Regions from separate parts of the Homo sapiens genome. Here regions 2, 3, 4 and 5 are each linked to region 1. The links are contacts of gene promoters, found by promoter capture Hi-C in blood cells and fetal thymus (Javierre and others, 2016). All regions are on one chromosome and are shown on one strand. The core of a region is centred on a gene start or on the middle of the fragment in contact, and the rest is flanking DNA. Distances in the headings are between cores, read along the strand shown. Region 1 holds the start of NECTIN4-AS1 (NECTIN4 antisense RNA 1). Region 2 holds the start of ATP1A4 (ATPase Na+/K+ transporting subunit alpha 4). Region 3 overlaps COPA (coat protein complex I subunit alpha). Region 4 overlaps NCSTN (nicastrin). Region 5 holds the start of CD84-AS1 (CD84 antisense RNA 1).

The links. Contacts are between HindIII fragments. The CHiCAGO score rates a contact against its expected background, and 5 or more counts as called.
Region 2: the fragment with the promoter of ATP1A4 here is called in contact with the fragment with the promoter of NECTIN4-AS1 in region 1 in 7 of 17 cell types (non-activated CD4 T cells, naive B cells, erythroblasts and 4 more); the score reaches 7.9 in non-activated CD4 T cells.
Region 3: a fragment that was not itself captured here is called in contact with the fragment with the promoter of NECTIN4-AS1 in region 1 in 1 of 17 cell types (non-activated CD4 T cells); the score reaches 5.4 in non-activated CD4 T cells.
Region 4: a fragment that was not itself captured here is called in contact with the fragment with the promoter of NECTIN4-AS1 in region 1 in 1 of 17 cell types (activated CD4 T cells); the score reaches 5.8 in activated CD4 T cells.
Region 5: the fragment with the promoter of CD84-AS1 here is called in contact with the fragment with the promoter of NECTIN4-AS1 in region 1 in 12 of 17 cell types (total CD4 T cells, naive CD8 T cells, total CD8 T cells and 9 more); the score reaches 12.1 in total CD4 T cells.

Annotation. Positions count from the first base shown.
Region 1 is chr1:161,081,317-161,085,187 of GRCh38, forward strand. It overlaps NECTIN4-AS1 (NECTIN4 antisense RNA 1), which reads left to right and starts at 2,510. Exons shown (of 4, transcript NR_183641.1): 1 at 2,510-2,762; 2 at 3,336-3,496; 3 at 3,621-3,712. All of the region lies in intron 1 of NECTIN4 (nectin cell adhesion molecule 4), which reads right to left. The HindIII fragment of the contact is 5,052 bases long and covers 1,818-3,871 here.
Region 2 is chr1:160,149,766-160,153,636 of GRCh38, forward strand. It overlaps ATP1A4 (ATPase Na+/K+ transporting subunit alpha 4), which reads left to right and starts at 1,838. Exons shown (of 22, transcript NM_144699.4): 1 at 1,838-2,422; 2 at 3,400-3,459. The coding sequence starts at 2,276. The HindIII fragment of the contact is 4,407 bases long and covers 1-3,871 here.
Region 3 is chr1:160,333,117-160,336,987 of GRCh38, forward strand. COPA (coat protein complex I subunit alpha) reads right to left here. Exons shown (of 33, transcript NM_004371.4): 4 at 2,126-2,206; 5 at 487-563. Among named protein-coding and RNA genes, the nearest start is that of COPA, 8.2 kb to the right of the region's middle. The HindIII fragment of the contact is 997 bases long and covers 1,193-2,189 here.
Region 4 is chr1:160,349,771-160,353,641 of GRCh38, forward strand. NCSTN (nicastrin) reads left to right here. Exons shown (of 17, transcript NM_015331.3): 5 at 335-480; 6 at 1,452-1,602; 7 at 1,926-2,035; 8 at 2,284-2,436; 9 at 3,117-3,221; 10 at 3,390-3,467. Among named protein-coding and RNA genes, the nearest start is that of NCSTN, 8.3 kb to the left of the region's middle. The HindIII fragment of the contact is 1,190 bases long and covers 1,180-2,369 here.
Region 5 is chr1:160,534,866-160,538,736 of GRCh38, forward strand. CD84-AS1 (CD84 antisense RNA 1) reads left to right here and starts at 2,231. Exons shown (of 2, transcript NR_188634.1): 1 at 2,231-2,322. The HindIII fragment of the contact is 1,945 bases long and covers 1,348-3,292 here.

The DNA of each region.
Region 1 (3,871 bases), core at 1,260-3,759:
GCTGCAGCTGCAGCCTGGGTGCAGTAGTGCTAGGGTGGAGAGGAGGGGACAGTTCTGGGGGGAGATTTGACAGGGATTTGGTCACTGACCAGAAAGAGAGATGAAGGAGAGGAAAGACTCAAAGGCAGCTCCTAAATTTCTAGGATGAGTAACTTATGAGGGAGACAGGGCCTGAGGATGTTCATTTTTGGGAAGAAATAAATTTGGAGTCATGGAATCAAAAGTGAAATATGGGGATTGGGGCCTGGGGGCAGAGCAAAGGAACATGCTGGGATGGCAGGAGCTCCTTGCCTTGGAACGCGTGCCCCAGCAACCCCCAACAGTGTGTTGTCCCTGCCTCTGCCCAGCAAGCCACACACCTTGTTGTTCCTCACCTCTGCTCACACCGTACCCGCTGCCTGGAATGCCCTCCTCCCTATATCTGGTAGCACCTACTCATCATTTAAGACTCCGCTTAGACATCATTTCCAGCAGGAGTCCTCCCTCCTCCCACCCCCACCCCAGGCAGCATTAGGTGCCCTTCCTCTGTGCTCCCCAGCACCCTGCTTTCATTCCCATCACAGCACTTTATCCCTATTTTCTGGGCCTCACATCACCATTGGAACCATTGTTTCTGATTTAGTGCTCAGTGGTATGTGGGTTCCGTCAACATTTATTGACCAAGTGAATGAATGAACAGGTGAATTAATAAATGAGAGAGACAGAAGGAAAGTGTAGAATGAGGAGGAACAGGCTGGGCACAGTGGCTCACACCCTAATCCCAGCACTTTGGGAAGCTGAGGCAGGCAGATCACCTGAGGTCAGGAGTTTGAGACCAGCCTGGCCAAAATGGTGAAACCCTGTCTCTACTAAAAATAAAAAAATTAGATGGGCGTGGTGGCGGGCGCCTGTAGTCCCAGCTACTCGGGAGGCTGAGGTAGGAGAACTGGTGAACCCAGGAGGTGGAGGTTGCAGTGAGCTAAGATCATGCCACTGACCTCCAGCTTGGGCAACAAAGCAAGACACCATCCCCCCGCCACCAAAAAAAATGAGGAGGAACAAGCATTGGGCTGGCCAGGGAGGAACATTACATGGTAACCTTGGGGTGGAGGCAGGATAGGCTGGGCTAGCTAATTGGGTTCACTGCCAAAGGGAGCACCTCCAGACTGGACAGAGGAAAAAAATAGGGATGGAAGGAGGCAGGCATGGAGGGAGGAAATGAAGCCCCACCAGAATGGATCAGAGAGTTTTAGTGAGGCAGCACATAGAGCACAGGAAGGGGTTCCTGTGGCCCTGCTACCAGAAGGAGAGGGAAGAAGGATGCTGAGAGGGCCCAGATGGGACAGGATAGACCTGCAGGGCCAGATACCAGAGCCCTGACCTGCCTAAGCTAATGTTGGTCCCACCCAGCCCAGCCTGGGAGTCCAGCTAACCACCCGCACCCCTCCCAGGCTTTTTCTCCTCCTGGCACTGGAAAGAACAGGGCTGCCAAGGAAGGGCTGTGAGTGAGCTTGGGTAGGGGATCTCCAGCACAACATATCCTCTGCTTCAAACGCTGGTGTCTGTGAAGGTCACAGGGATCCCAAGACCTGCCCCATTAGGACACTCAAACCTTTCTAAAGACTATTTCTGAGACAATATCAGATGGCATATTTTCCATCCCTATTCCTATACTAGCCAACCACCTGCTGCCTCCCCACCACTAATCACCTATATTTCCCTTGGAAAATACCTTCTTAGGGTACAGCAGGCATTAGATACCCAGCGCATGCCTGAATGTCAATCCTCCATGTTCTCACCTGTGAGTCCACGATCCCCACCCCTAGGGGACACACTGAAGCTTCACAGACCGAGGAACCCAGTAAAACAGGAAATTCCCTTCTGGATATCTCCCACAGATCCTCATTGTTCTAAATCCACTACTTAGTAGGAACATCTCAGCCTGAGGCAACACCCTCCTCCAGCTGCATACCCCCCTACCACCCTAGGGTACAAGAGAAGAGAAAATAGAATTTGGGCCCTAGAATCCCTGTCCTTGTCTAAACAGACCCAGAAGTCCAGGTTTCCAGGCCAGGGCAGGCCAGGACTGCCTCCTCCTTCTCTCCTCCACCCAGTGTCAGCCTGGCGTCAGCATGATGATGTCATCAGACCAAAGGAGACACATTGCCTGCCTGGTGAGGTCACCTTGAGGGCATGTGGTGGCCAGGCCAGGCCAAGCCCAGGGACCCTTCTGTTGCAAATTGTTTACTGAGGCTGGTGGACTCCGGCTGGTTAGACACTCCTCCCTCTGACCCTCCCACCCCTCCTCCCTGGAGTACCAGGACGCTGGTCAGGAGCCTTGGTGACTCAGAAGCTGCCTCACAGCAGCAAGCCTAGCCACAGCCACCACCACCTTGCGCAAGGGAGAGAACAGGCCCAACTGGCCAGACGGGATCCCTGCCCTTGGCCTCCCCCACCCTGGCCAGGCCCCCACGGGCCTCTTTGGAGCCCAGCCCTTTGTGTACCCCGCCCGCTCCCAGACAGGCCCTCCATTCCAGGTTTGGGCTGGCTGGCTCTTCCCCACCCTATGCCTGGGTCTCAACTTTCCTTCCTATGTGAGCCTGGCCTCTGATCTCAGGAGGGGAAACTGAGGCTGGCACTTGCTGACACCCAGCCATCAAGAGCATCTTTAAGGAAGTATCTTTTCTTTATGAGGGGCCTTTCTCCATCAGTATCCCCTGCTGGGACTTACAGATGTGAATGTAGGGGATCGTAGAGGTGGGTCTGTGAGAAGGAGGAAGGGAGTAAGTATGAGTTTTTTGTGTATGGGGAGCTGTGGCTGAGGGCCTGGCCAATCTTAGTGCTGGTTCAAACGCATGTGAGGCTATCTTCTTGCATAAACTGGTGGGTGTTTGGCACATATATGTGTTCATGTCTTATCTTAGGGGCATATACGTACTTACTTGTCTGTGTCCAGAGGGAAGAGCTGTGTATCAGTATGTGTGAATGTGTGTGCACACATGATTCCGTGTGCATGTCACACCCTCTGTATGCATGGAGTGCATTCTTGTCTCGCGGAACTCTGCACACATAGTAAATATTTTGCTGTCGGTTTATCTTGGCTTCCACATGTCTCTCTGTCTCAGCTGCCCTTGGTCTGTGGTATGTGGCTGTGAGCCTTTGCCTCTGCATCCTGCCTGGAATGTCACCCCCAGCATCCTTCCCCACCTTACCCCAAGACTTGAAGACATATTAATCTCAGGCTCAAGGTGGAAGTACCCAGAGATGAGGTCACTGTCCCTCCAGGTGATGGGAACTTGCCATTAAGGACTCCCCAGCAGAACAAAACAAATGTTCCCTCTCCCCTTGCTCCTCAGGTTCCTACTAAAAGGACTGCCAACCTTCTCACCACTACCCCCAGCCACTCCCCTGGGCCCCTCAGCAGCTCTGGCCCCCCAAGGAGGCCTCTCCCTGGGAATCTCTGTCAGGGCTCTGCTGCTGCCACCACCAGAAAAACCAGCTCTGGCTCCAGGCCTGGGTAAGGGTTGTCTGGTGTGGGTTTGGGGGGGTGAGGGGAATCCTGCCTGGGGCTAGGGGGAGGGGTCCAGGCTGTCTAGGGTCTCATGCTCCTTTGTTAACTCCTGCCTCCCCTTACCTGACAGCAACAATCTCCACCGAGAGCTGGAGTATGTGGGTGAGTCTGGGGTGAGAAAGGACCTAGGAGGGACGCACCGAAGCTCACCATCCAGGACAGGTGACACAAACAACCCAGCAAACCCCTTTCCATCCACTCTTTGCCCCATAACCTTGGCCTTGGAGTGCTAAGGAACTTTAAAAACCAGAAGATTCCCTCTCCGCCTTCATCCACCTCCCTCACTTACCCCCCATTGTACTAAGCCCCCCAGCTTAGTGA
Region 2 (3,871 bases), core at 588-3,087, 930 kb before region 1:
GGGAAGGTGGGGCTTTCAATTTTTATCTTAAACATTTTTAATAGAGAAGAAAAATCCAATCTGTTAAAGAAATAGACGATCATTTATCCCAGCTGGGAAGGGAGCATTTCTATTTCTGAATATTCAAGGAGGATTGCATCAGCACCAAGATGAATGTTTCCAGATACAGTCATATTTTTAAAAAGCATGCCCAACCAAAATGCAATTAAATAAATATCAGGCCAGGCTTGGTGTCTCACTTATGTAATCCCAACATTTTAGGAGGCCAAGGCCAAGGATTGCTTGAGCCCAGGAGTTTGAGACCAGCCTGGGCAACACAGGGGCACCCCGTCTTTACTAAAATAAAATAAAAAAAATTAGCCGGGCATGGTGGCACATGCCTGTGGTCCCAGCTACTTGGGAGGCTGAGGTGGGAGGATCACTTGGACCTGGGAGGTTGAGGCTGGAGTAAGCCATAATCGCACCATTACACTCCAGCCTGGGCAACAAAGTGAGATCCTGTCTCAAAAAGTAAATAAACAAATATCAAACAACAGAATGGGAAAATCTATGTGACGTGCATAATTGAAAAATATATATAATGGTTGACAGAAAAGTATAGATGCTTCAGATTATTCTTGGAAGGAGGTAGAATCCTATGGACATGCAAAACATATATACAGTTAATATAGTCAAAGCACTTACTGAGACACCAGAGAAGGTCAATGGAAGAGGTAAGTACATCATTTTAAAATGAGAAAATGCAACGCTATCACATGGAAAAGCATATTTTTACCCTCACTGAGAAGAGCTGCATATTAATCCACAAATAAAACTACTACTGAATTCAAGCTACCTATTGAGCACATACTATATATGTCACATAGTGCTTTTTGTAGAGCACCTCACTTAAGGTAGAAGGTATCCTCTTTTAAAAATAAGAAAAGAGAGGTACAGAGGTTAGGTAACTTGCTCAAAGCCACACAGCTGACAAGTGGAGGAGTTGGGATTGAAATCCAGGACTGGTTCCAGAGCCCAAGATCTGATCTATTCTGCTAGCTGATCTCCTAAAATTAAAAGATCAAACCCAATGTTAGTGGAAAAGTGTGCCTTGCTAAAAAACACACACAGAGTACCTGCTTTTTTTTTTTTTTTGAGATGGAGTCTCAAAAACAGACGGGAGAATATTAGTCCAAACTGCAACTGCACCATTTTGTAAGCTCCCTGCTATGGTTTTTTGTTTGTTTGTTTGTTTGTTTGTTTGTTTGTTTGTTTGTCTGAGATGGAGTCACTCTGTCACCGAGGCTGGAGTGCAGTGATGCAATCTCAATTCACTGCAACCTCTGCCTTCTGGATTCAGATGTTTCTCCTGCCTCAGCCTCCCGAGCAGCTGGGATTACAGGTGCCCACCACCACACCTGGCTAAATTTTGTATTTTTAGTAGAGATGGGGTTTCACCATACTGGCCACGAAGGTCTCGATCTCAGCCTCCCAAAGTGCTGGGATTACAGGCATGAGCCACCGCGCCCGGCCGAATACCCGCTTTATTTTTGAGTCATCTATTTGGCATACCTCTAAGCCTCCAAAGTCTGCAGGACCACACAAGAACTTTGTTCTAGTTCTGCCCTCAGACTGAAACTCTTTCTGTAGCAGGGCCTGCTCCAATCGTCCTCAAACCCAAAGACTGAGACTTCTAGGTTCTTGGTTAAAACCTTCATGAGGCCTTTGCGACAGCAGACCTGGACCATCGCCAAGGCAAGACTTCTGGATTCTTGGTTAGAACTTTCAGGAGGCCTTTGTGATGCCAGACCTGGGTCATTGCCCCAGCAACCACAGGGCCTGGGACTGGGGGGTTCCCAGATCCTTGAAGCTCACTCCGCCTCCTCACTCTCACTGCATTTCCCACCTTCCTGTGGGCCTTGCGGCATCTTCATCACTGAGGCACCTGGTTACGCTTCACCTCTTGTTTCCTGCCCTCACTGCATTCCCTCACCTCTACCTTTTTATCCTTCCACCCTAGGCTTCTCTCCTCCCTCTTCCCTCACTCCTGACTCTTCCTCTTCCCAGCGGACGGCTGGAGGACCGCTCAGTCTCTCCTCTCTCACTTCCCTTCCTCTCTCTCACCTTCACCACCCAACACCTCCCTCCCTGCCTCTTTCTTTCTGCTCCCTCATTCTCTCCCCACCACTCTCTTCTCGTGGCCCCCTTGCCCGCGCGCCCTCTTCCCTTCCCCTTGCCTCACTCTCTCAGCTTTCTTCCCACAGTTGAGCTCGGGCAGCTCTTTCTGGGGATAGCTATGGGGCTTTGGGGGAAGAAAGGGACAGTGGCTCCCCATGACCAGAGTCCAAGACGAAGACCTAAAAAAGGGCTTATCAAGAAAAAAATGGTGAAGAGGGAAAAACAGAAGCGCAATATGGAGGAACTGAAGAAGGAAGTGGTCATGGTGAGGCCACCCAAAGTGGGCGCTGACAGCTGCCCTCTGAAAACACTCCTCCACCTATCTTTAACATCTTACCTTGAGAATGAAACACACAGGCCAGAGCCACATCTCTTCTCTGTTAGGCTTTGGAGGGAAGGAGAGGGTTAAAAAAAAAAAAAAAGATACACACAGAGAGACAGGGCAGCTCAACAGCAAGCACAGGTATATTGCAGACACCTGTGGAAGTGGGGGATCAGCTTAATTCCACAGTCCACTGCCACTTACAGGCTGGGTACTTATAGGGATGGATGGGAGGAGTCTGGGCTGTATGGCCTGCTGCCTGGCAGGATATCGATAAGATGTTCTCATGATGAGGTGATTTTTGGCCCTTGTTTCCACAGAATATAATCATGGTATTCCCTGGACCTTTGCCCAGCAGGATGTGATAGGGATGTTTCTTTAGTGGGGTCTTTGTCTTTAATTGGGCCTTCGTCTGCCCTGTGGTCAGGTGGTTAGGCAGGCTGTTTCTCTGGCCCGAACCCCCGTGAAATGTTTCACTTTGACCAAGGCCTGTAAAATAGTGGGGAGCTAGGCCGGGCGTGGTGGCTCACACCTGTAATCCCAGCACTTTGGGAGGCTGAGGCAGGCAGATCACCTGAGGTCAGGAGTTTGAGACAAGCCTGGCCAACATGGTGAAACCCCGCCTCTAAAAATACAAAAATTAGCTGGTCCTGGTGATGGGCCCCTGTAATCCCAGCTGCTTGGGAGGCTGAGGCAGGAGAAACACCTGTTGGGAGGCAGAGGTTGCAGTGAGTCGAAATCGCACCACTGTACACCAGCCTGGGCAACAGAGTGACTCCATCTCAAAAAAAGAATTGCAGGGAGCTTACAAAATGGAGCAGTCTCAGTTTGGACTAACATTCTCCAGTCTGTTTCTCCCCCTCTCCCTGGAAATGACCTGGGCCACCCCCTGTCCCTCAATGCCTCTACTGTCCCCTCAGGATGATCACAAATTAACCTTGGAAGAGCTGAGCACCAAGTACTCCGTGGACCTGACAAAGGTGAGTAAGAAGCTCCCTGAGGAGGCAGAGAGTCTCCAACTCTGACTGTGAGGCTGCCAGGACAAAAGCTGAACTAGGAATCCAGCCCCCTAACTTCAAGTCCAACGTTCCCACCCCTCACCCTCTGCCTGGCCACGTTCCATGGACACTACCTGGAAAAAGCTGCAAATGGTAACTACCCTCAAAGAGAGTGTGGGACTAGATAAGAGAATAAGAATGCTTTAGGGCAGTGCTGGTCAAACGTCTTGTCCTTAGGTCTCCTTTACACTCTTAGAATTTATCTAGGACCGCAAAGAACTTGTGCTTATGTGGCTTAAGTCTGTCTATATTTACCATATTAGAAATTAAAATTGAGAGTTTTAAAATGTATTTCTCAATTCATTTAAAAATAACAAAAATAAAGTTATCATAT
Region 3 (3,871 bases), core at 441-2,940, 750 kb before region 1:
TTTCACCATCTTGGCCAGGCTGGTCTCGAACTTCTAACCTCAGGTGATTTGCCTGCCTTGGCCTCCCAAAGTGCTGGGATTACAGGCATGAGCCATGGCGCCGGGCCAAGGCCATCACTTTAAATGGTCCCTAACTCTTCATGGAAAGTTCTATGTAAAGCTCCAGCTCCAAACACAAAATAAGACAAAGGTCTAGACCTTGACTCAGGTTTTATGGGAAAATAATTGAAAACCAGCTAAAAGTTCTTGTTCTAAAAGGCTATATGACTTCTCTTCCTGGTAAGAAATTATTGGAAGTCCAGATTCATATATGGGATTGCCTCTACATTTATTATTTTGCACTTAAAAGCATCCTACAAATACAATCAGTAATTAATCAGCCGACATAGTCCATTTGAGAAGGGAGAAGATTGTTCTAAGAGAAGCTCATTATGAAAAACTAGGAAAAATGAAGACTCTTTTCGAGCCCTCTGCCTCCTGCTTTACCAAACACAGGTTCTAGATTGCCAGTTCCACACTCGGATGGTCTGATCATCGGAGGCACTCAGAATCCAGGGATATTCCTGAAAGATATTCCAGACAAAGGCTTTAAACATTAAACAAATCTGTTCTATCAGGTTCTTGTAATCATTTTTCTCTAAAGAACTGCATTGCTTAACGGCTCAGCTACATTAGCAAAGGGGCTGCTGCTTTTGCTATCAGGTTAGCTGTCTCCTTTTCTCTACCACTCTAACAGCTTTTCTCAACTTCGGCACTTTCACCTATAAGACTTAAGAATGGAAGCCAGTTAGAGGCACAATACATTCTCAGAGGCAGATAGTGAAACATACATTTACATTTACTTCTATATGTGTGTGTGTGTGTGTGTGTATTTATATACAGTTAATCATGTAAATTAAGATCCTGTGAAAGACTCTTCTACCTTTAACTCTAGGATGGGAATATTATTTTATTGTCTGACTTCTTTCTGTCCAGTTTCAAAAAATTCCCAGGTCTCAGCAAGCAAAGCAGAAAGTAACATGTAAAGACAATTTAGCCTTTTTGGAGTCTATAAGATTGTTGAGAAAAGGAAGTATTTCTTATTTACACTTCCTTCTTACTACACTTGCTAAGCTTTGTGTTAAACACTGAAAATAGATGGTATTTCTATTTTCAATAGAGATAGTATCTCTACCTTCAGTATTTAGCACAAAGCTTAGCAAGTATAAGGCACACACATATTTAGTGAGCTGGTAAAATGAAAGAAAATAAGGTCTTTCGTAACTTTCCAGGTAGATGGCAACTTGTTCTAGGCAAGGGTCTTCAGGAAGTCCTTTATGGCAATGACAAATAATTCCTACTTAATAAGTTATCTTATTGAGTGGTTATCATTCTCAAATGTTTAAGCTGTAATTTTCTCATTCTCTCCTATCCTAGAATTTTTTAATTAAAAAAAGAAATAATATATACTCAACCAGTAAATTGTTTATTTCATCATATTCTTTCTAACTTAATTAAAGAGACTTAATTTACTGGCAATCAAAGAATAGTGTAAGTTAATGCTAATACACAGAACTATAAGGAGATCCTGTCAGGGTGCAACTGGATTCAGAGGTTGGGAGTCTGTAATCTGCACCTCACTATCTAAATCTACTATGTTACCTGGCAGATCAAAGAAAGTAGTAAGCCTGGCTAAGGGAACAGCCTCCACCAGACCCAAAAATCCTAGGATAGAGGGGTATGATTGTTAATACTTCGAAACGTTTGTTAGCTGATCAAAATGGCATCTTAGTCTGACCTTCTTCCAGACACACCTACTACTTACTAATAATACCCTACATGGGATTAGCTGGCAAACTTTTGTTTTTTGGTTCAGCAAATCTGAAATCAAATCCCTACTTTTCCCTACAGAGAAACAATGACTTCCCATAGAATCCACTGAATCCAATAAAATTAAATTCAGTATAATCCCAAGTGCTTCCTTTTGCAGAAAGAAAAAAAGCAGAAAGGACAATACCACACAGATTGTAGAAGAGCCACTCCAAAAACAACTCTATTATTAAAACATGGGTTCTCAAGGATCAAATAAAGATTACTATGGGGAAACTAAGAATGCTCCAAAACTAGCGCCACCATGACTACTTACATGATGAAAAAACGTGGTGCGAATATAATCTAAGTGCCCAAGCAATGTGAAAAGACAGCGCCGAAGCTTGTAATTCCAAACCTGCAAAGACAAATCAAACTAAGAAACAGAAATAGTTATTGAGCCTCTAAAAGGCTCAGAGAAATTGATATCTTTACAGAGATAGAAATATGTATATAAATATAGATTTATATACATTATTTGTATTTTGGCATTTCTAAATAGGTAGGAACCTTGGTAGAAAGCCTTGTTTAAGATTTGAGGGGAAAAGAACAAGAATGAAAATATAGGTCAGATAAACAACATGGGGTTGGGGTAGGATTAGGGAAAAGCTAAAGATAAAATTATTGAAGTTTTTCAGGCTGGGCGTGGTCACTCATGCCTGTAATCCCAGCACTTTGGGAGGTCGAGGCGGGTGGATCACAAGGTCAGGAGATCGAGACCATCCTGGCTAACATAGTGAAACCCTGTCTCTACTAAAAATACAAAAAATTAGCCAGGCGTGGTGGCATGTGCCTGTAGTCCCAGCTACTCGGGAGGCTGAGGCAGGAGAATCGCTTGAACTCAGGATACAAGAGGTTGCAGTGAGCCGAAATCATGCCATTGTACTCCAGCCTGGGTAACAGAGCGAGACTCAGTCTCAAAAAAAAAAAAAAAAAAAAAAAGTTTTTCTTTCTTTGGGAAGAAGCCATCTGCATTTAATAGCAGGAGATATTTATCCAGGGCTTGATTTGCAACTCTTTTTTCTACTGCAAAATTGTGCTCTTGGCTTGAATATAGACCCCTTAAGTGCTTTACCCATCACTTTTAAAAAGTATGACAGGCTGGGCACGATGGCTCATACCTGTAATCCCAGCACTTTGGGAGGTCAAGGCAGGGGGATCACCTGAGGTCAGGAGTTTGGGACCGGCCTGGCCAACATGGGGAAACCCTGTCTCTACAAAAATACAAAAAAAAATTAGCCGGATGTGATCCCAGCTACTTGGGAGGCTGCGGCAGCAGGATCACTTGAACCTGGGAGGCGGCGTTTGCAGTGAGTTGAGATCGCTCCACTGCACTCCAGCCTGGGCGACAGAGAGAGGCTCGGTCTCAAAAAAAAAAAAAAAAGTAGGACAGATAGATACCATGACTCCAAGGGAAACAATAATATAGGGCATCAGCTTCTTAGGCTCCTAACTTGATGGCAAACAACGCCCATACATGTGTGGTCTGTACTCACCTGTCAAGCAAACAGACCTTAACTTATTACATGGAAAATACTACATTGCTCAGTAAGCCTGAGCTAAGCAGAGAAACAATATCATATTCAGATGTGAAGTTGAGTCAACTACCAAAGTACTAGGCATCAATGAACACAACTGAAGACATGAAAACCAGGATCATAAATATAAAATAGCTTATCTTCCTCATTCAGAAAATCCCCTAAAATGTACAAAAATAAGAGACCAGATGCATTTTTCTTCTTATTTAATTTTTTTAAATTTCTTTTTAATATTTGTTTATAATCAATCTGGGCCAGCTTGTTACTATTTCTAATTTTTAACTTTTCTTCAGTAAATTATAAAAATTTCATTTCCTATAACAAGTCCAGACAATCCAAAAGTATGATCTTCCAAACAAGAATGCTGAGTTCCTTAAAGGCAGGGTTCTTGTCCATCATGCTCAACACTATACCCTTACCACCTAACACAGTGCCTGACATTAGGTAAGTGCTCAGTAAGCATTATGTATGGAAATAAGAATAAC
Region 4 (3,871 bases), core at 525-3,024, 730 kb before region 1:
GTGTAGTGTCAGTAACTGACTCCCAAACAGGGGGTAGTGTTTATTTGTCTTTGCTGCTCATCCCTTCCCTCTCCTGCTTCCCCTTCCTTTGCCTTACCTGGCATTATCTCTTTTTGTCACGTGTTCACATCCCTAATCTTACAGCCTAAGACTCCCTGATACCATTGTCTTTCTATTTTAGTGTGGATGGTAATAGACTTCATGCCTACTTCTTTGAGTCACCACCTCCTTTTGAACTCTTAGTCCCAACTGAAAGATTCTTCTGCCGTCACCTGGTTCCTAAGTACTTGGTGTCCCAGTAACCAGTCCCCCTATTCCCCATCCTTCCCTTCAGGTGTTTACTCCAATTCCTATGGGCCAGAGTTTGCTCACTGCAGAGAAATACAGTGGAATTCGCTGGGCAATGGTTTGGCTTATGAAGACTTTAGTTTCCCCATCTTTCTTCTTGAAGATGAAAATGAAACCAAAGTCATCAAGCAGGTAATGACACTGCCAGCTCCTAGCAATTCCAGTTAGAAAGAAGATTATTTTTCTAGCCAGGTGTGGTGGTGTGTGCACGTAGTCCCAGCCACCCGGGAGGCTGAGACAGGAGGATCACTTGAGGCCGGGAGGCAGAGGTTTCAGTGAGCTGAGATGGCACCATTGCACTCCAGCCTGGGTGACAGAGCAAGGCCCTGTGTCACAAAAAAAAAAAAAAAAAAAGGATTATTTTATAGGCTCTCCTATTTGGAGGGTGGCTCATTCTTCTGGTACACCTGCTGAAAGACGGTTGCTCCAAAAAGAACCAAGACGTTAGTTCTTCTCACATTCTTTCCCCACATTTTGCTCCTACCTGATATTACAGCATTAAAGCCTTTTAGACTAGAAGAAAATATAAAGAATATCTGAAAGAGTAATATGAAACAAGGTACACAGCCCAGGTTAAGAACCACTAGTATCGTTAAAAAAAAAAGCATTGGATTAGAGATTGAGAAATTCAATTTGGTAATTTCTGAGCTTCTTTTTAGCTCTAATATGCCTTAATTCTGGTCTAGTATTTCCATTTTGACTCATAGAGTAGTTAAGAGATTTGTCCAAAGTTGTATGGTGAGTTGATCTCCAAGCTGTGTCATATCTGATTTCCTATCTCTAGTTTGGTGCTCTTTGTATCAGACCACACTGAATCTTTTCAGTGGCTGAAGCTTCAAATTGGGCCAGGCCATCTGGAATGGGATAGTTTCATCTCCAGCTAAACCACTGAGTCTGCAACCCTTTGTAACTCTTGATGAGTTTTTTTCTTTGACCTTATAGATCCTATGGTGGTTCTAGGATAACTATAGCTCAGGGATAAATGTCTCCGAAAAGGGTGTGGCTCCATCCCAAAAGGATGGAACTGGGCCCTCCTCCTTCTGGGATGTAAGGGAGGGCCTCCACAAACTAGCTGTCTCAGTGGGGTCCATCTCCCCTTTCAGTGCTATCAAGATCACAACCTGAGTCAGAATGGCTCAGCACCAACCTTCCCACTATGTGCCATGCAGCTCTTTTCACACATGCATGCTGTCATCAGCACTGCCACCTGCATGCGGCGCAGCTCCATCCAAAGCACCTTCAGCATCAACCCAGGTAGGGCAGATCCGAACCATGAGGGTAATGGAATAAGGGGCAGAGGGAGAGTGGAACCAGGCCAGGGAATGTTAGAGAGACTGTAATAGGGAAGGAGTAGACACCATGAAGGAGCTCTGCATGGGAGAACTAGAAACAATTCTGAAAAATTTAGGCAGCTTGTTCCTAAAGTGGATAGTGGCAGAGAAGCCAACCTCGGACTGTTGGAAGTAGAGAAAACGACTTAGAGTCCGTGGGGCACTGGTCAGAGATTTCCAATGTTGCCTTTATAGCTACCTTCTCCTTTAGCCTTGTTGATCTCTCATTGTTTGTGTCCTGCTTAGAAATCGTCTGTGACCCCCTGTCTGATTACAATGTGTGGAGCATGCTAAAGCCTATAAATACAACTGGGACATTAAAGCCTGACGACAGGGTTGTGGTTGCTGCCACCCGGGTGAGTGTTGGCTTCTGATCAGGATGGGCAGGGCTGGCACAAAAAGAGCTGGTAGGCCCCGCTCTAGCATATCAGATTTCAAAGTTGCTAAATTGGGAAGCCTCAAATGGGGAGGAATCTGGGCTGTGGGACTCCTGGGTTGTCTCCATTGCCACAGGACAGGTATATTCTCTTGACTGGAGCAAGAAAGGAGGTTTGGGGCCAGTTTTAAAGTATATATCCCCTGACTTTTCTTCTGTTGTACCTAGCTGGATAGTCGTTCCTTTTTCTGGAATGTGGCCCCAGGGGCTGAAAGCGCAGTGGCTTCCTTTGTCACCCAGCTGGCTGCTGCTGAAGCTTTGCAAAAGGCACCTGATGTGACCACCCTGCCCCGCAATGTCATGTTTGTCTTCTTTCAAGGGGTAAGGGCTCTTTGGCTGGGGTGCAATGGCAGGGAAGAAAGAGGATAGTAAAGATGAGAGTGGCTACTGGTTGGAGAAGACCTCAGCACTTGACCTAAGTTGTTAACCAGCACAGAGCTTCTGGATGTGTCTACATGTGTCTCCCCTTTAGATTCCTCCATTTTAGGAAGCTTAGATTCCTTCTTTTTAGGAAGCTTTTACACCCTGAATTGGTATGTAACCAGCCCCCTCTTTCCCCCACTGATAAGATATATTGGAGGCGGCCTTTTACTTTTATTCTCTGGACTCCTTTACTGCTATCTCCATCCAGGAGCCGTTAGGCTCCTGACTCTCATCACTAGGACCACAGCAGAATAAGGGAACAGCATCTGTGGCTGAGTCACTGGAGGTGGGGGACCGTTAAGAATCAGACACATAATAGCTGATGTTCATCTTAGACCTTTACTAAGGCTACTTTCCCCATTTCTGGGCTTCAGAAGTCTTGTAATACATATGAGGGATAGTCACAGCTGGGAGGTGGGGCCAAGAGAAGCCGAAAGTCACATGACTGTAAGCTGACTAGCAGTTGAGGTGACCTGAGATAGTCGTCTTACCTACAGCTTTGATGATCTGGCCGCCTTCGAGGCTCTCCTAACCCTTTGGAATCTCTGTTCCCCCTCCCACCTACCTCCATCTCTCAGGAAACTTTTGACTACATTGGCAGCTCGAGGATGGTCTACGATATGGAGAAGGGCAAGTTTCCCGTGCAGTTAGAGAATGTTGACTCATTTGTGGAGCTGGGACAGGTATGTGGCATGTCCCCCAGCCCCTTCCTTTTTAATTAAATCTTCCTCCTTTGTTGTTCTGCGGTCTTAACTGCAGGAACCACCGCCTCTTCCCTTGACTTCTATCCCCTAGGCATGGCCCAGAACAGGAGACTGATTCTAAGTGTTGTTTCTTCATCCTCCCCCCAGGTGGCCTTAAGAACTTCATTAGAGCTTTGGATGCACACAGATCCTGTTTCTCAGAAAAATGAGTCTGTACGGAACCAGGTAACCTGAGCATCTCCCCTCATTTCCTATTCCTACAGCTCAGAATCCAGACCCCAACCCCTGCCCTGTTTCCACCAACCCCCAGGGCCTGTGAGACAGGGTAAGAGACAGGATTGGATTGGGTGTTGGCCAAAGGATGAACACCACAGCTGTTGTTGCTGCTGGGAAGAATCAGGAACTCAGTGACATTCCATTGGTTCCCTGGACTGGGTAGTTCTCTGATCATTTGTTGCCTAGCAGACTACCACTGCCCATTAAGGATAGGTGAGTGACTAGCTCCCTTCTTGCCTTGCTGCCCCATGGATCCAATTGTCAAGGCTGCTCTACCCAAGTCCTGGCTGTGTCACACTCGCTGCCCAACTTGTCCTCCACTTTCCTCATTGCTTGTTCAAAACCTTCCCTTC
Region 5 (3,871 bases), core at 981-3,480, 550 kb before region 1:
TTCTAGCTTGTTGGATAGTTTTTATCATGAAAGAATATTGAACTTTGTCAAATGCCTTTTCTGTGTCAATTAAAATGACCAGTTTTTTTCTTTCATTCTGTTAATGCAATATATTACATTGAATGATTTTTGTATGTTGAACTATCCTTGCATTCCAGGAATACATTTCACTGTCATGTTGTATAATCCTTTTAATATGCTGCTGAATTTTGTTTGCTACTTATTTTGTAAGAATTTTTATATAAATATTTATAAGGAATATTGGTTTGTAGTTTTGTTTACTTTTAGTGTCTTTGTTTGGCTTTCGTATCAGGGTAGTGCTGGTGTCACAGAGTGAATTAGGAAGTGGTCTCTTCTTGTTAAGGACTGAGTGTTTATGCCTCTACAAAATGTATATATTGAAGCTCTAACCCCCAATGTGATGATATTTGGAGATGGGGACTTTGAGAGATAATTAGGTTTGGATGAGGTCATGTGAGTGGGACCCTCATGATGAGATAAGCATACTGATAAGAAAGGAGAGACTAAAGTTCTTGCTCTCTCTCTACCACATGAGGGCGTATTGAGAAGTTGGCCACCTACAAGCCAGGGAGAGTTTCACCAGCAATTGAATCAGCTGGCACCTTGATCTTGGACATCGAAGCCTTCAGAACTGTGAGAAATAAATTTCAATTGTTTAAGCTACCAAGTCTGTGGTATTTTGTCATGGAAGACAGAGTGAATTAATATATTTATCTTCAATGTTTAGAAGAGTTTAAGAAGGATTAGTGTAAAATCTTTTAAAACTCTTTGGTGACCAGTGAAGCCTTCTGATCCAGGACTTCTCCTTGTTGGGAAGTTGTTTTAAAATTATTTACTTAATATTCTTAGTAGTTATAGGTCTAATCAGATTTTCTATTTCTTCATGATTCAGTCTTTGTAAAAATTGTGTCTACTTCATCTATGTTATCCAATTTGTTTGTAGTAGTCTCTTCTATTCATTTCTGAAAAATTGGTTGTAGTGTCCTCATTTTCATTTCCAATTTTAGTAATTTGAGCACTCTGTCTTTTTTTCCATAACCACTCTAACTAAATTTGCCAATTTCGTTGATCCTTTTAAGTAATCAACTTTTTGGTTCATTAATTTTCTCTATTTTATCTCTGGTCTAATCTTTATTATTTTCTTTATTTTGATAGCTTTGGGTTCATAGTAGTGGCACTTTCCCACTTGAGATCTGAATTAAGTGAAATAGAGACCAGTTCTTCATGGACTCCTAAGACAGATTAGAATATTGCAAATAAGATCTGTTATGTTCCCTCCCATTCAAGAGAGGGAACTGAGAAGTGAACTCCTGCCTCCTCTAAACAAGCTTTCTGTTGGGATGAGGAGGGGATGGGGCAAGGGCAAGAAAAATGCCATGGAACTTTTCCTACCATTTCAAAAGTGGCTTTTTCTTCATTGGGCATTTGATTGGTTGTTATAAAACTCTGACTGTTTTCCAGAGTCCCTATAAGGTTAATTCAACCATTTGGGTTTTTTTTTGTTTGTTTGGCTGTTTTTTTATTACTCTAAGTTGGGGGAAAGAGAGAGTTTGGAATTTCCTAGTCCACCACTTTGCTGACATCACTCTCTCTATCTCTATACTTTTACACTGATTTTTAAAAAGATGATAGAAATGTGTTCACATATTTCTTAAGTAACTAAAAATTAGTGACATTATCCAAGATCTTGGTGGATAAATAATATTCTCTCTGAAGAACCAATGCCCCTTAGAAAAATGACTGATTCTAGATGTGAGATAGCCTCTTATATGTATTTCTTGACTCACTTTACTAACAAGGATCTTCAATACAATACAGTTGAAGAGTAGCAGTGATCTTGTATTCACTGAATACAAGAATGGTTACTTGTATTCATTTCTTTATTAAGAATGCCTCTAATGTTTCCAATAAATGTTTGCTACATATGCTGTATCAAGTTGTAAAAGTTTAACCCGAGCCAGTCATTTGCTTATTTGCTCTCAGCTCTATTCCCACCCTTCTGTGTTCCTTGTTTTTCAGAAGGTTAGAAGTCTGCAAACTACATTTATCATTTCCATTGTCAGATGGCTTCTGATTAGATTTTGTCACTGGGTGGTATTGGTTAAAGTTGGATGGAAGGAATAAATTATATATTTTTCCATAATCTTGGTTTCTGGTAATGTTTTCAGTAGTGGCAGTGATAGCAGAAGATGAGTACCGCTTCAGGGTTCCTGGTGTAGCAGTGCAGTTCCAGCAAGCATGTCAGAAGTCTTGCTAGTGTGGTACTGGTGGGATCAGGCTTTGATGGTGGCATCTGCAGTGGTGAGTTATTTTTGTCTCCCAGAGTCTCACAGTTTTGATGAGACTGTGAACTCTTAGAATCTTGAAAGCTGGCAGCACTGATTCCCAAGACAAATTTCCATAGGGACAAAGTTCCATAGCAACTTCCTGGAATTATTAATTGCTTGGTAACCTCAGCTTCCCTGTTTTACTCCTCCATCACTTTTGGAATCAATTCCCTATATTCAGCTTGTTGAGTTTTCAGTATTTAACATGGTCTCAGTTTTTTAAAATTGGATATTGACTAAAACACATTCTATTTTTAGCTTTCTTGAAAACTTTTTAAATCAGTCATGGGTATTCAGTTTTATCAAATATATATTGTAGACTATGTCAGGATGATTATTTTTTTCATCTCCTTTAATCTGTTTGAACAGCAAATTACAATAGATGGTTTCTTAAAGATAAATCATCCTGGCACTCTAAGGATAAAATCCTACTTGGTCGCATTTTTTTTTCTTTTAATGCATTGCTTTAAAATTGACTGAAGTTTAAGATTTTTAACATTTATATTTATAAGTGAGATTGGACTATATCAGGATGTGGCAGACTTTTTCTGTAAAGGTCCCAGTAGTGAATATTGGACTTTGTGGACCATACAATCTCCTTTGCAACTACTCAACTCTGCTGGTGTAGTATGGAAGCAGCCATAATAAACACATAAAAGAATGCGTGTTGGCTGTGTTTCAATAAAACTTTATTTATGGATGCTGAAATTTGAATTTCACATAATTTTAACATGTCCCAAAATATTATTATTCTTTGAATTCTTTTCAACCATTTTAAAAATGTAAACTATTCTTAGTTCGTGGGTCAAATAAAAACAGATGGCAGACTGGATGTGGCCACACGCCATAGTTTGCTAACTCCTGGCCTATGTATCTCTTTGTGGGGGATCATCCTTATCTGGCTTTGGAATCAGTGTTATATTATAGTATTTAATGAATTTGGAAGCTTCCCACTGTTTTCTATGCCTTGGGACAGTTAAGATGACTGGGAATTATCCTTTCATTGTAGGTGATAGGACTAGCCCTTAAGACCATCTAGGCTGGTACACTTTTGGCAATTAGACCACTGAATATCTTTCCATTTTTTTTCAGGTTAAAGAATTTCTTCTAATTATAAACTAACTTTCTCTCTCTCTTTCTTTCTTTCCTTTCCTTTTCTTTTTTTTTTCTTTCTTTTCTTTCTTTTGAGAAAGAGTCTTGCTCTGTTGCCCAGGCTGGAGTGCAGTGGCACCATCTCAGCTCACTGCAACCTCTGCCTCCCGGGTTCAAGCAATTCTCGTGCCTCAGCCTTCCAAGTAGCTGGGACTACAGGTGTGTGCCACCACACCCGGCTTTTTTTTTTTTTTGTTTTTGTACTTTTAGTAGAGACGGGGTTTCACCATGTTGACCAGGCTGGTCTTGAACTCCTGGCCTCAAGTAATCCACCCACCTCAGCCTCCCAATACAGGCGTGAGCCACTGTGCCAGGGCTTAATTATAAATTTTCAACTTATAAGTTATTACATATACAAAGCCTTATACCAC